Regions from separate parts of the Homo sapiens genome. Here regions 1 and 3 are each linked to region 2. Evidence: promoter capture Hi-C in 16 types of primary human blood cells and fetal thymus (Javierre and others, 2016). All regions are on one chromosome and are shown on one strand. Each heading gives the region's core, a stretch centred on a gene start or on the middle of the fragment in contact. The rest is flanking DNA. Distances are from core to core; before and after follow the strand shown. Region 1 overlaps LINS1 (lines homolog 1). Region 2 holds the start of SPATA41 (spermatogenesis associated 41). Region 3 overlaps LINS1 (lines homolog 1).

Region 1 (4,485 bases), core at 585-3,084, 250 kb before region 2:
AGTTCAGTTTTATAACATTTACTAATTATAGAGTCAAGAAGTTTTGAACTCCCAAAAAGAAGGAAAAAGAGGGAGAGAGAAATGAATAAATATGTAAATTGTTGTGGAGAACATATTCATTCTTATAGCAGACTCGGCACCCATGCAATTCATATGGTGTATTTGCTAAATGATAGTTAAGTAGAGAGATGGGGGCCTAAGAACTTGTTGGTGAAGAGCCTAGAAACAGAGTTGTCTCCTAATTCCTAGTTCTTTGTATTTCTGGCCATTTGTTTTTCATTAAAAATCCTGCCTTTGAGTTAAACAACCATTTTCAAATGATTGAAGTACATGATTATATCATAGCCAAGTAACATCATATTGTCAAAGTTTCACAGAATGTGCTACTAGGTAATTTTAAATTGCTTTATTGAATTGGTGCTATCAGATTTGCTAATTTTTATAACTTTTCAATGATGTAAAAGCAGTTTAGATTGCGGAATATTTATAACAAGTTAATATTGATTAGGTTTTAACAGATACACTTCATTTCCCATTAACTTAGTTAATAATATAAAACTCACAAAAATGGGAACATCTTACAACATATAAGTGAAATAATTTGGGATAAGTATTCATGAAGCTTGATTCATGAAACCCTGACTCAATCAGAATTGAGTTTATTTCTTGAGTAGAAAGAGACTTTGTCATTGGAAAAATGCCCCAGCACCACTGCAGCAATTCTGATTTAGCTGGTCTCTAGGGAGTCCAAGGCTCATGGGTTTTTCCTAATGTTCCAGTGATGTCAGTGTCAAGGTCAGATTCCAAGGTCAAGGACCACTGCCCAGGAGGCTGTGTCCTGGCCCATAAAGCACTTGGTGGTGGAGAGAATGAGCAGGTTATGCTCTAGTTGGCAGCAGGCAGTGTTCTGGGCCAGCAGGTTGTGTCTGGGGATCTTGGTGTAATAAAGAGGGCCACCATAAAGACAGATGCAGCACAGTTTGGAGCCCATCATTTGCCTTGTTAGCCCAACTTAGTTCAGCTGTACCTGGCAGAAAAGGCGATGGGGCTGGGTAGAGAAATTGTATTTCAGACCTTGGTCATCACAGCAAAAAGAACGCCGAAAGAAAGGAAGCTAACTGGAGGCTTTTGAGTTCCTTATAGTTCTTGCCCTGGTAATTTAAGGGATTTTGGTCTTCTATGGTATTCTACCACAGCCATTTTAAGATGGTGCTTCAGTGTGTGTTGCTTCTGTCAAGTACGTTGTCAGATGTGTCATACGGTAAAGACTGAATGAGCTCAGAACTTAATCCCTGCTATGGATACTACTGTTTATAATTCTTTGATACTACATTTTTATTATAATTTAAAATTCACAACTTAAAATATTACATGGTGTTTTTAAAGTTTTTTGAGATCAAAACGGTACTAAAATATACTTTGGGACTGATTTTAGGATTGTTACATATACACTACTAAATTAATCTTCAGCCAGGAATGTATTCCACAAATATAAGTACCTACTGTGTATCAAATGCTGTGCTAGGAGCTAGGGAAGAACCAAGCAGACAACTCTAAATCATAAAAATCATTGCACAAATCGTTAAAGTATAATTGTGACACATTCTGTAAGACAGGGCACCAGAGCTGGAAGACAGTATCACCGGAGGACCTACCCCTGCCAAAGAAAGTCATATTTAAGCCTAAAACAAAAGGGAAAGTGGGTGGAAGGAGAAGCATTGTATCAAGGCCCAGAGGCTGGAAGGAACCTTTCAAGGTTAATAAATAAAGACATATTGACATCTTCCTACTTGAGTTATACAGGTGTTTTCACATATAAGCCATTTAATTTTTGCAAATCTTTGAGTATGCTACTTGGCTGAGGTAGGTAGATAATCTCGTTTTATCAATTGAAAAATCAGATCTTGTCTGTGTACAGAATTTAGGAGTTCAGTAAAATCTAGACAGTATCACATCTATAGACAGTTCCTCAACGCTACCCTGCCACTGGTGGCGGGTTTGTGGGGGCAGATGGAAAAGGGACAAGGCATAGACTGGAAAAGGGGAAGACTAAGGAAAACCTTTCAGTGAAATATTTCATTCTGAAGTACCACTTAAAACATACAGTTATAATTTAGCAACTAAGTATAGAAAAGTATTCATATTGATACACTGGATAATTTCCATTTATTTTAAAAATGCTTAGCATTAGCATATAAAAACCTAAGGAGCTGAGATTCCTCATCAATAAATCAAGTAGATTGTGCAGTGGTTCTCAAAATGTAGTCCCTGGTTCAATTCTTGGGCCCTCCCAGACCCACTAAATCAGAATCTCCAAAGTGGGCCCAGCCATTTGTGTTCTAATAAGCCTTCCAGGTAATTCTGATGCTACGGTTTGAGAATTATCTCTAAATTATCTCTTGAGATTTTTTCTAGTATGAACACGTTATGATTCTAATGTCCAGCATTAATTTGTGCTATGTTTAAAAAAAAAAAAAAAGATTTGCCTTTGGAGTGGTCACATAATAGAGCTACTTGAGAAAGATACTGTTGCCAGTAGGCCAGGTCAGGTTCTTCGCTTCTCTGCACAAAAGAATTTGAAAGGGAGACCACAGTGAAAATGTAGAAGGTTTGTTGCAGAGTGAAAGCAAGTGCACACTCAAAAGAGGAGCCTGGATGTGCTCAAAAGAGGCGTGTAATGTGGTCAGGGCTCGCTACGCAGACAGGCATGATGAAGGCACAAATATTCTATGATGAAAGGAGAGGGTTTCCAGGAAATGGGTGGGCAGTTCCCAGAATCAGGGCGCCACCCTTTTCTTGACTAAATGTGGTTAATCTGGAACTGCCATAGCTTCAGGTACGTGGCAGGGAGTGGGCGGTTTCCCCAGGGAAGTTTTATGGTAATGGGGCATAATGCAGCCAAGAGTATGCATTCAGTCAAGTTTTTGGCCATCTTGGATTTAACCAATTGCAGCAGGCTTCCTCTGTTACATTCTTATCTGTGCCTGGTCCCCAGGTAGCCCTTTCCCATTGGCACAGCTGCCGGCATTCACCTATGCAAGCTTTTACTTGTGTATCTATGCTTGCAGCTTGATTTTTCAGGCCGCTTTTTGTTAGAAAAGAAATGATTTGGGGGCTGCTTTTTATTAAAAGGGAAACCTTGCCGAGGACTCTCTTACCCTCACTATCTGTCTAAATAATTTCTAGCTCCTGTATCATCAGGCTGTTACCAGTATATCACTTTGACAGAAAAATGCATTTAAGCATTAAGTCTTTTATCTATAACTTGATTGCCAGGCTTTTCCTTCATGCCAAAAAAATCTGGCCTGTTTCAGAGTCCTAAGACAAGAGTTTAATAGGAAGACAATTTACAAACACGTGACAGAGTTTGTATTCTCACTATCTCAGAAGTAACCTGGAAACTTGTTAGAAATACAAATTACTGGGCCCCACCCCAGAACTATCTTATGGGAAGCTCCTAGGATAGGGCCCTGCAGTCTGCTTTCATAAACCTGTCTAGTGCATGACACAGTTTGAGTACTATTGTTTTGAGGAAAAGGAAGGATGGTGTAGCACTCCAAGGCCAGTAACCGCCAGCACCCCCTTTAGCCCTGAAGGTAAAGAGAGCTGGCAGTTCCTGGAGCTTGAAAGTCCAGCCTGCCTTCCGCCCCTCCCACTCCAAATCTCCTGGAGTCTGTTGGGGCACAGAGGAGAGTGAAGAATGGAACTAAAGGGAAGATACTGGCACATGGCATGCTGTCGGAAGATATCTGCCCCACTTCTTTTAATAGGGGAGGGAGGTGCTCTTGTCTAACCAGACCCATTTTATTTTTTCTGTGAAAAGTGCAGTTTCGATTGGTGGAGGGAACCAGAATCCTGGAAGACAGCCTGGGTTTGGAGGCCTCAACTTCCGCGACAGTTGTCACTGCATCTTCATTAATGGAGCAAAATAGATTAAGTAGCCTCTTGGGCTGTGGTCAGATTTGAACCAACTGTTGTTGAATTAGGGGAAGGCCTACTATTGACTTTCCCAGTCTATTAGTCTATGTAGTAGCCACATCATATAAAGAAACTAGTAATTTTTTTTACTTCTAATATTGACCATGAAAATAGATTATTTTTGTATTCTGAATTCAAACATAGACATATCTTTTTAAAGATAACCACAAATTGTTTTCCAAAGAGGATGTGCCGTTTTTCATTCTCACCAGCAGTGTAGGAGAGATCTAGTTTCTCAGCATCCTCCCCAGCATTTGGAGTCATTTTTAGCTCTTCTAGTAGTGGTAGTTCACTGTAGTGTTAATTCATATTTCTGTAATGGCTAATATGGTTAAGCATCTTTCTGTGGGATTATTTGCCATCTTTATATCCTCTTTGGTGAAATGTCTGTGCATGTCTGATCCATTTTGTAATTGAATTTTTTTTTTTAATGTTGAGTTTTGGGAGTTCTTTATATATTCTAGGTACTAGTCATGTGCTTTGCAGATATTTTTCTTTAAGTCTGTA
Region 2 (4,060 bases), core at 474-2,973:
ACATTCATTGTTTCCTAGGGAAGCTAAACAGTTCCATTCCTGGACCTATACCATGGGTGGGTAGAGAGGCTGCACACAGGGACCAACTAGCCATCTGGCTGCTCTTGCAGATGTACTTACCCTGCTCAGCCTACAGGTTGCTTTTGGGTGCCCTAAATTTTTTATAGCCACTTCTTGCACACCTCCATTAGATGAATGCTTTCATATAAATCTTTAACATGCCTTAGAATTAATTTTAGTTTGTGTTATGACTCTGTAGTTGTTAGCTATTGCTGCATAACAAATTAGTCCAAAACTTAGTGACTCAAAACACTAATAATAATTTATTTTCTCTTGTTTTTTTAACGGTCTGGAATTCAGCCAGGGTGGACACAGTGGGAAGGGCTTGTCTCTACTCATGGTGTTTGGGGCAGACTCAAAGGCTGGGGGCTGAAATCATCGGAAGGCCTGACTGAGGGTAGAGGATCTGCTTCCAAAATGACTCACTCACATGACAAATTAGTTGGTTCTGGCAAGTTGGCCTCCTTTCCAAGAAGTGCCTCTCCACACATGTGCTTCTCTGCAGGGTTGCTTGAGTGTCCTCATGACATGGCTGGTGGTTCCCAAAAAAGCAAGTGATCCAAGAGCAACATTCAGGAATAAGTTCAATCCTTTCTATGACCTAGCCTCAGAACTCACAAAGCATCACTCTCAATACGCCCTATTCATCAGAAGCCAGGCAGTAATTCCAGCACACTTTCTAGGCAGAGGAATTAGGTACACCTGTTGAAGGGAAGCAGGTCATAATTAGAGGATATATTTTTGAACCACCACAGAATCTAACTTAGGTTCGTACAAATATATAAACAGCTGTCCAATACCACATATTGAATAGTCTATCATTACTATATCAGTCTGAGCCATGACTATTTGCATTTACTAAGAATGTGTGTTATTACCATTGAAGACCTTCCAGTGGGACAAGATGTGAAAGCAGAAGACAGTGGTATTGATGATCCTGACCCTGTATAGGCCTAGGCTAATGTGTGTTTGTGTCTTAATATTTGACAAAAAGTTTAAAATGTAAAAAATAAACAACTTCAAAAGTAGGAAAAAAGCTTATAGAATAAGGATATGAAGAATGAAAATATTTTTGTATAGCTGTACAATGTGTTTGTGTATTCAAGCTGTTATTAAAAGAGTCAAAAAATTTAAAAATTCTTAAGGTAGAAAAGTTACAGTAAGCTAAAGTGAATATATTATTGAAGGAAAGAAAATTTTTAAAAATAAATTGAGTGTGGGCCTAGTGTACAGGGTTTTAAAGTCTACAGTAGTGTACAGTAATGTCCTAGGCCTTCGTATTTACTCACCACTCACTTACTGACTCACCCAGAGCAACTTTCAGTCCCGTAAGCTCCAAGCTTACGGTAGGTGCCCTAGGCAGGTGCACCAGTTTCAATCTTTCATACCATATTTTTACTGTATCTTTTCTATGTTTAGATACACAAATACTTACCATTGTGTTACAGTTGCCTACAGTGTTCAGTACCACACTGTACAGGTTTGTAGTCTAGAAGCACAGCCTACAGCCTGGGTGTGTAGTAGGCTGTGCTGTTTAGGTTTGGGTAAGTACACTCTATATTGTTTGCACAATGATGCAATTGCCTGACGATGCATTTCTCAGAACGTCTGCTCACTGTTACGCAACGGAGGACTGTGAATTGGGAGTTTATTTTGTTTTTCAGTCTGTACTGGCAGCGAATCATACATAGCTTAGTTTATCAGACAAGCTGCTTTTCTTGAGCAAAGAAAGAACTAGGAGAGAAACGGGGCTTTGGAACCCTGATGCGGCAATGCTGAAAGAGGAGAAATATCCCAAGGAAGGGAAAGGTGTGTTGCAGAACGATGAAAAATAGGCGGCTTCTCACAGCTGTTCTCAGGGGACGAGACGGGGTGGGATGCAGCTCCGCCGGTGCCTAACACTAAGGGCCCTCATCCTGCCGATTCAGTTGTGTCGGGACCGCCAGTGCTGTCTCCTCGTCAGATGCTGCTTCTGGTCTCCCCGCAGAAGATGCCACTGGAGTTGCCTTTTCAAGGATGGGGACATTTGAAGGCCCTGGACGCTCAGCTCTGAGGCTGGCTGGGATCTCACTAGCACCCCCTGGTGGAGGCCGGAGCCAGGCTGACGCGGGAAAGTGGGGCACGGAAGCGCTGCGGATTGGACCGGCGGCAGCTAGGCCGAAACGCCTGTATTTAAAGGGATAGTAACTCGGACTCGTTCTGCAATATCCCCACAAGGGCCTGACTGAGCGAGCGAGCATGGACGGCCGCGGGGCTTTCTGGACAGTGGCCATTCCCAGAGCCAGGCAGGAAGGCCTCGGGAGGCTGGGGCTCCCGTTCCCGGTGAAGCGGACGCCGCCAGCGCCCCAGAACCCAGGAGGAAGCACACAGGCCCCACAGAGAGTGGTTGGCAAGAGTCACTCGGGGATTAGGATGCCGGCCAAATCGCGGAATTTGAGGCTGGAATCCAAGCTCAACAGGAAAGTAGTGAAATACAAATGGGGAAAACAGGGCTCTGGAGCGGGGAGGGAGCTGGTGCCGGCATTTCCCACCAACGCCGGTTTAGGAAGACGGGACCGATGCCGGCCGCCCCCTGCTGGAGGGGATGTGGCATCTCACGGGCTGCCAGGGAGCGGGGTTGGCTACTCCTGCAACCAGCGTGAAGAGGGTCTCAGGGGAGGCTGTGGTGGGATCCCCCACGTGCCCTTGTTCCTCTCACCGTTACCTCTGGATGCCTCGGGGCAAAGGCCTTCTTCCACCTATAGACAGAGTCTACGCAGGGGTCTTGGAACCCGGGCACACCAGTCCCCAGCTAACGAAATCCCCGAGTTGGGGGATTTGAGAGGGTCACGTTTGGCCCAAGAACCCGCAGTCCTCTTTGGTCTTCGGCCCTCTATTTCTAAGCGTGGGCTTCTGGCACGGCGGCTCTGGGCACAGCCCATGCTGCTTTCGGGCTGGGTGGTTTCAACGACGACAACAATTATCACAGTGACGGTGACCTTCACCCCAACAGGACTGCTGTGTGTGAAGCACTCAAGAGGGCCCCTACAACCAACCTGCCAGGAGTCGGCTCCTGAAAACAGGGTCGGAAAAGGTCAGTGCCCATCAGAATCGAGCTGTCGGCAAAAAGCTGGAGAGGTTAGGAGCTTTGTCTATCTCAAGGGTAACAAACTGCTTTGACCCTGAGGGCTCTGAAGACGACTTTCCCTCACCGCAGCTCTCAAGACAACAGGGATCAGACTCAGAAAGACACTGCCTGTATAAGGCTCTTGTTTGTCTTGTTTTTAATTCCTGCCCTCTGCCTCCAGATCTCAGTCCTCTATCTGTGAAACGGAATTCGGCCTTGCCTGTCCACGAAATGAAGACAAGGCATCTCGTGTGTGTTAAGATGAAACAAGATCTTAGCAAGAGAGTAATGATTTCTTTTTTAAAACATTTTTTACTGTAGTAAAATGTACTATAACGTAAAATTACCATTTCAATCATTTGTAAGTTCAGTGGCATTAAGTACATTCACATTGTCGGGCAGCTGTCAGAGGTGTTCGAACCAGAGCGACTCCATCTTGAACAGGTGCTGCGCAAAATGAGGCTGAGACCTGCTGGGCTGCATTCCCAGGAGGTTAGGCATTCTTCGTCACAGGATGAGTCAGTGGCTGCCAGGGAGGCAGGTTGGTTACCCCAGGAACCAATGAATTGCATCTCAGGGGAGGTTTTGCCAGATACAGGTCACAAAGACCCTGCTGATAAAACAAGATGCGGTAAAGAAGCTGGCCAAAACCTACCAAAACCAGATGGTGACAAAAGCAACCTCTGCTCGTCCTCACTGCTCATTATACACTAATTATAATGTATTAGCATGGCAAAAGACACTCCCGCTAGTGCCATGGCAGCTTACAAATGCCATGACAACATCTACTTAGTTAAATTTGCATACTATGAATATGAGTATGCAAATACCTGTTGGAGTCCCCGCTTTCAAAGCTTTGGGGTACACATCCAGAAACGGAATTGCTGGATCATA
Region 3 (4,294 bases), core at 1,577-4,076, 220 kb before region 2:
CATTCAGTATGATATTGGCTGTGGGTTTGTCATAAATAGCTCTTATTATTTTTAGATACGTCCCATCAGTACCTAATTTATTGAGAGTTTTTTAGCATGAAGGGTTGTTGAATTTTGTCAAAGGCCTTTTCTGCATCTATTGAGATAATCATGTGGTTTTTGTCTTTGGTTCTGTTTATATGATGGATTACATTTACTGATTTGCATATGTTGAACCAGCCTTGCGTCCCAGGGATGAAGCCCACTTGATCATGGTGGATAAGCTTTTTGATGTGCTGCCGGATTTGGTTTTGCCAGTATTTTACTGAGGATTTTCTCATCGATGTTCATCAGGGATATTGGTCTAAAATTCTCTTTTTTTGTTGTGTCTCTGCCAGGCTTTGGTATCAGGATGATGCTGTCCTCATAAAATGAGTTAGGGAGGATTCCCTCTTTTTCTGTTGATTGGAATAGTTTCAGAAGGAATGGTACCAGCTCTTCCTTGTACGTCTGGTAGAATTCGGCTGTGAATCCATCTGGTCCTGGGCTTTTTTTGGTTGGTAAGCTATTATTATTGCCTCAATTTAAGAGCCTATTATTGGTCTATTAAGAGATTCAGCTTCTTCCTGGTTTAGTCTTGGGAGGGTGTATGTGTCCAGGAATTTATCCATTTCTTCTAGATTTTCTACTTTATTTGCATAGAGGTATTTATAGTATTCTCTGATGGTAGTTTGTATTTCTATGGAATCAGTGGTGATACTCCCTTTATCATTTTTTATTGCGTCTATTTGATTCTTCTCTCTTTTCTTCTTTATTAGTCTTGCTAACGGTTTATCAATTTTGTTGGTCTTTTCAAAAAACCAGCTCCTGGATTCATTGATTTTTTGAAGGGTTTTTTGTGTCTCTATCTCCTTCAGTTCTGCTCTGATCTTAGTTATTTCTTGCCTTCTGCTAGCTTTTGAATGTGTTTGCTCTTGCTTCTCTAGTTCTTTTAATTGTGATGTTAGGGTGTCAATTTTAGATCTTTCCTGCTTTCTCTTGTGGGCATTTAGTGCTGTAAATTTCCCTCTACGTACTGCTTTAAATGTGTCCCAGAGATTCTGGTATGTTGTGTCTTTGTTCTTGTTGGTTTCAAAGAACATCTTTATTTCTGCCTTCATTTCATTATGTACCCAGTAGTCATTCAGGAGCAGGTTGTTCAGTTTCCATGTAGTTGAATGGTTTTGAGTGAGTTTCTTAATCCTGAGTTCTAGTTTGATTGCACTGTGGTCTGAGAGACAGTTTGTTGTGATTTCTGTTCTTTTACATTTGCTGAGGAGTGCTTTACTTCCAACTATGTGGTCAATTTTGGAATAGGTGTGGTGTGGTGCTGAGAAGAATGTATATTCTGTTGATTTGGGTTGGAGAGTTCTGTAGATGTCTATTAGGTCTGCTTGGTGCAGAGCTGAATTCAATTCCTGGATATCCTTGTTAACTTTCTGTCTCGTTGTTCTGTCTAATGTTGACAGTGGGGTGTTAAAGTCTCCCATTATTATTGTGTGGGAGTCTAAGTCTCTTTGTAGGTCTCTAAGGAGTTGCTTTATGAATCTGGGTGCTCTTGTATTGGGTGCATATATATTTAGGATAGTTAGCTCTTCTTGTTGAATTGATCCCTGTACCATTATGTAATGGTCTTCTTTGTCTCTTTTGATGTTTGTTGGTTTAAAGTCTGTTTTATCAGAGACTAGGATTGCAACCCCTGCCTTTTTTTGTTTTCCATTTGCTTGGTAGATCTTCCTCCATCCCTTTATTTTATTTCTGTGGCATATTCGATTTTTTTACTTAAATAATATTAGGATACTTCTGTTCCTTCTCGGTGTGCCACATATTATCATACTTCTTTTGGCCAAATGTATAAACAATGTTGTATACAGTTGTATTATGTAAAGAAAATATTGTATTTTAACTGCTTGCTTTATTTTCTCACTTGTAGATAACCTTAAGTAATTCCTGGATTGCTTTTTGCCAGAAAAATCTTTCTGAATACTCTGAGAGTAATAAAGCAATATACTGCCTCTGGACTCTTACAGCAATAATAAAAGAAATCTTTAAAGATTCATGTTCACAGAAAACAGGTATGGATTACATGGCCCCATAAACAATCATCATCTTGCTCCTGGGAGCGTTGCATTTATAATGAGAAACAAAACTTAATTTGGAACATCTGATCTGTCTTAAAGTAATGAAAAAGTCAGTCTCTTCCAATATATTTTGATTGAGGATAACCTGTTTTAAAAGAAAAAAAAGTATAAGGAAAAAAGTAAAGCTTTTCATGAGCACAAATCCCTTGCATTGTTTGATGTTACTGATATTCGTAAAATGAATATTTTTTGTTTTGTTTTGTTTTATTTTTTTGAGACAAGTCTTGCTTTGTTGCCCAGGCTGGAGTGCAATGGCATGATCTTGGCTCACTGCAACCCCTGCCTTGCGAGTTCAAGTGATTCTTCTGCCTCAGCCTCCCGAGTAGCTGGGATTACAGGCGCTCACCACCACACCCAGCTAATTTCTGTATTTTTAGTAGACACAGGGTTTTACCATGTTGGCCAGGCTGGTCTCAAACTCCTGACCTCAAGTGATCCACCCGCATCGGCCTCCCGAAGTGCTGGGATTACAGTTGTGAGCCACCACACCCAGCCATAAAATGAATTTTAACCGTGGTTCTTACCCATTAATCTGTGTAACCTCATTTGTTAATGTTAGAGGTAAACATTCCAAATCTGTTTTTTCATCTTAAAAAGTGATATTTATAAAAAGTGAATTGTAAAATTGTTTGAAGAAGACTGTTTTTCCTGTTTATAATTCCTATTTTTATAATTGCAGAAATTCTAAAGCAGTTCCTGACTCATTTCGACACCATTTTTGAAGTGTTTTACAATTCCTTATTCTCTCAGCATTTTGAAAACTGCCGGGATACTTCTAAAATAGTAAACATCCTGATGTGTTTCCTGGATTTGCTTGAGCTTCTCATCGCCTCCAGAATCCACCTGAAGTTACATTTCACTTGCCAGAGGATTTTATTTTTGAAACCATCTTGCATGCTAGAAGTTATTACCTGGCCTATTCAGGCTTTTGTTAAAAGGAAGGTCATCATATTCCTCAAAAAGTGCCTTCTCTGTAAAGTGGGTGAAGACCTCTGTCGTGGATCTGTGCCTGCCTTAATGCCGCCAGACCATCATGTAGCGGTGGACATGCTGGCTTTAGCTAATGCTGTTTTGCAAGCTGTGAATTCGGGGTTGTTGAAGACACTGTCTGTTTATGAAAAACATTCCTTTTTTGGAGGTGATGAAGTTCAACCTGAATGTGAACTTATCACTAGTCCAGATCATGTGATCCTTAGAGCAGCAAGCTTAGTTATAATGAAATCCTTAGAAATCAAGTTTCAAAATTATTCTTCAGCAAGTGAAGTGAAAGGTAATTCTCCAAACTCCTTTTGTATGCAGTGTGTAATTATTTACTTAAGTACAGTAATTCATAATTATCAAATCTCAGGACTAGTTTAAATTCCAGTAATTTAAGCTGTATGTTATCCTATTTGTAACTTATTACATTTTCAAAAAAAAAAAAAAGAACTGGATTTACCTTTAAGAAACATGTCAGCTTTTTGTGCCTACAATGAATTTGTAAAGCATAAGGAATGATTTAGGTTTAAAAAAGTTGCTGTTGAGTCATCTCAAAGTAAGTGATGGAAATCAATTCATATTCAAGTATTTACAGCATTTTATTTATATTAATCCTTTTTTTTTTTTTAATCTAAACTGCAGGTGCGTGACCATGGCCCACTGCAGCCCTGACCCCCCTTCGGCCCATGCTATTCCTCCTGTCCCAACCTGGGAGGTCCTAGCCTGGGAGATCAAGGCTACAGTGAGCCGCGACCCATCGCACACCTGCACTCCAGTCCTGGTGCAACAGATGGAGATCCTTTCAGGGAGAGAGAGAGAGAGAGAGGAGAAGACAGAGAGATTAAAGAAAAATATGTTCACTCCCACTTATGTGTTTATTGTTATTATTGTTTGTTGTTATTTCTTTGTTATTGTTGTGTTTACTGTTTATTTATTTTGAGGCAGGGTCTTGCTCTGTCTCCCAGGCTCACTGCAGCCTCAACGTTTTGAGCTGAAGTGATCCTCTCGTCTCTGTTTCCCCACCCCATTTGTATTAATCCTTCATACAATTAGTGTTTCCACTAATGTAGATTATTGAAAATTAGATATTGAATTAAAGCTAATATATGAGAAGTTATATTGACAAAGAAATTGTTACATATATAATTTCCAGAATA

The links. The method cuts DNA at HindIII sites, captures the fragments that hold promoters and counts their contacts. A CHiCAGO score of 5 or more calls a contact.
Region 1: a contact is called between a fragment that was not itself captured here and the fragment with the promoter of SPATA41 in region 2, in 2 of 17 cell types (naive CD4 T cells and non-activated CD4 T cells). The highest score is 5.7, in naive CD4 T cells.
Region 3: a contact is called between a fragment that was not itself captured here and the fragment with the promoter of SPATA41 in region 2, in 5 of 17 cell types (M2 macrophages, naive CD4 T cells, M0 macrophages and 2 more). The highest score is 8.2, in M2 macrophages.

What each region holds. Positions count from the first base shown.
Region 1 is chr15:100,595,261-100,599,745 of GRCh38, reverse strand. All of the region lies in intron 1 of LINS1 (lines homolog 1), which reads left to right. Among named protein-coding and RNA genes, the nearest start is that of LINS1, 4.7 kb to the left of the region's middle. The HindIII fragment of the contact is 2,419 bases long and covers 625-3,043 here.
Region 2 is chr15:100,348,381-100,352,440 of GRCh38, reverse strand. SPATA41 (spermatogenesis associated 41) reads left to right here and starts at 1,723. Exons shown (of 2, transcript NR_028139.1): 1 at 1,723-3,707. LOC105371021 (a long non-coding RNA gene) reads right to left here and starts at 2,835. Exons shown (of 3, transcript XR_007064777.1): 1 at 2,759-2,835; 2 at 1,496-2,066; 3 at 297-762. RefSeq lists an enhancer at 2,296-2,555. The HindIII fragment of the contact is 2,620 bases long and covers 1,403-4,022 here.
Region 3 is chr15:100,572,786-100,577,079 of GRCh38, reverse strand. LINS1 (lines homolog 1) reads left to right here. Exons shown (of 7, transcript NM_001040616.3): 4 at 1,952-2,093; 5 at 2,839-3,429. Among named protein-coding and RNA genes, the nearest start is that of LINS1, 27 kb to the left of the region's middle. The HindIII fragment of the contact is 1,080 bases long and covers 2,287-3,366 here.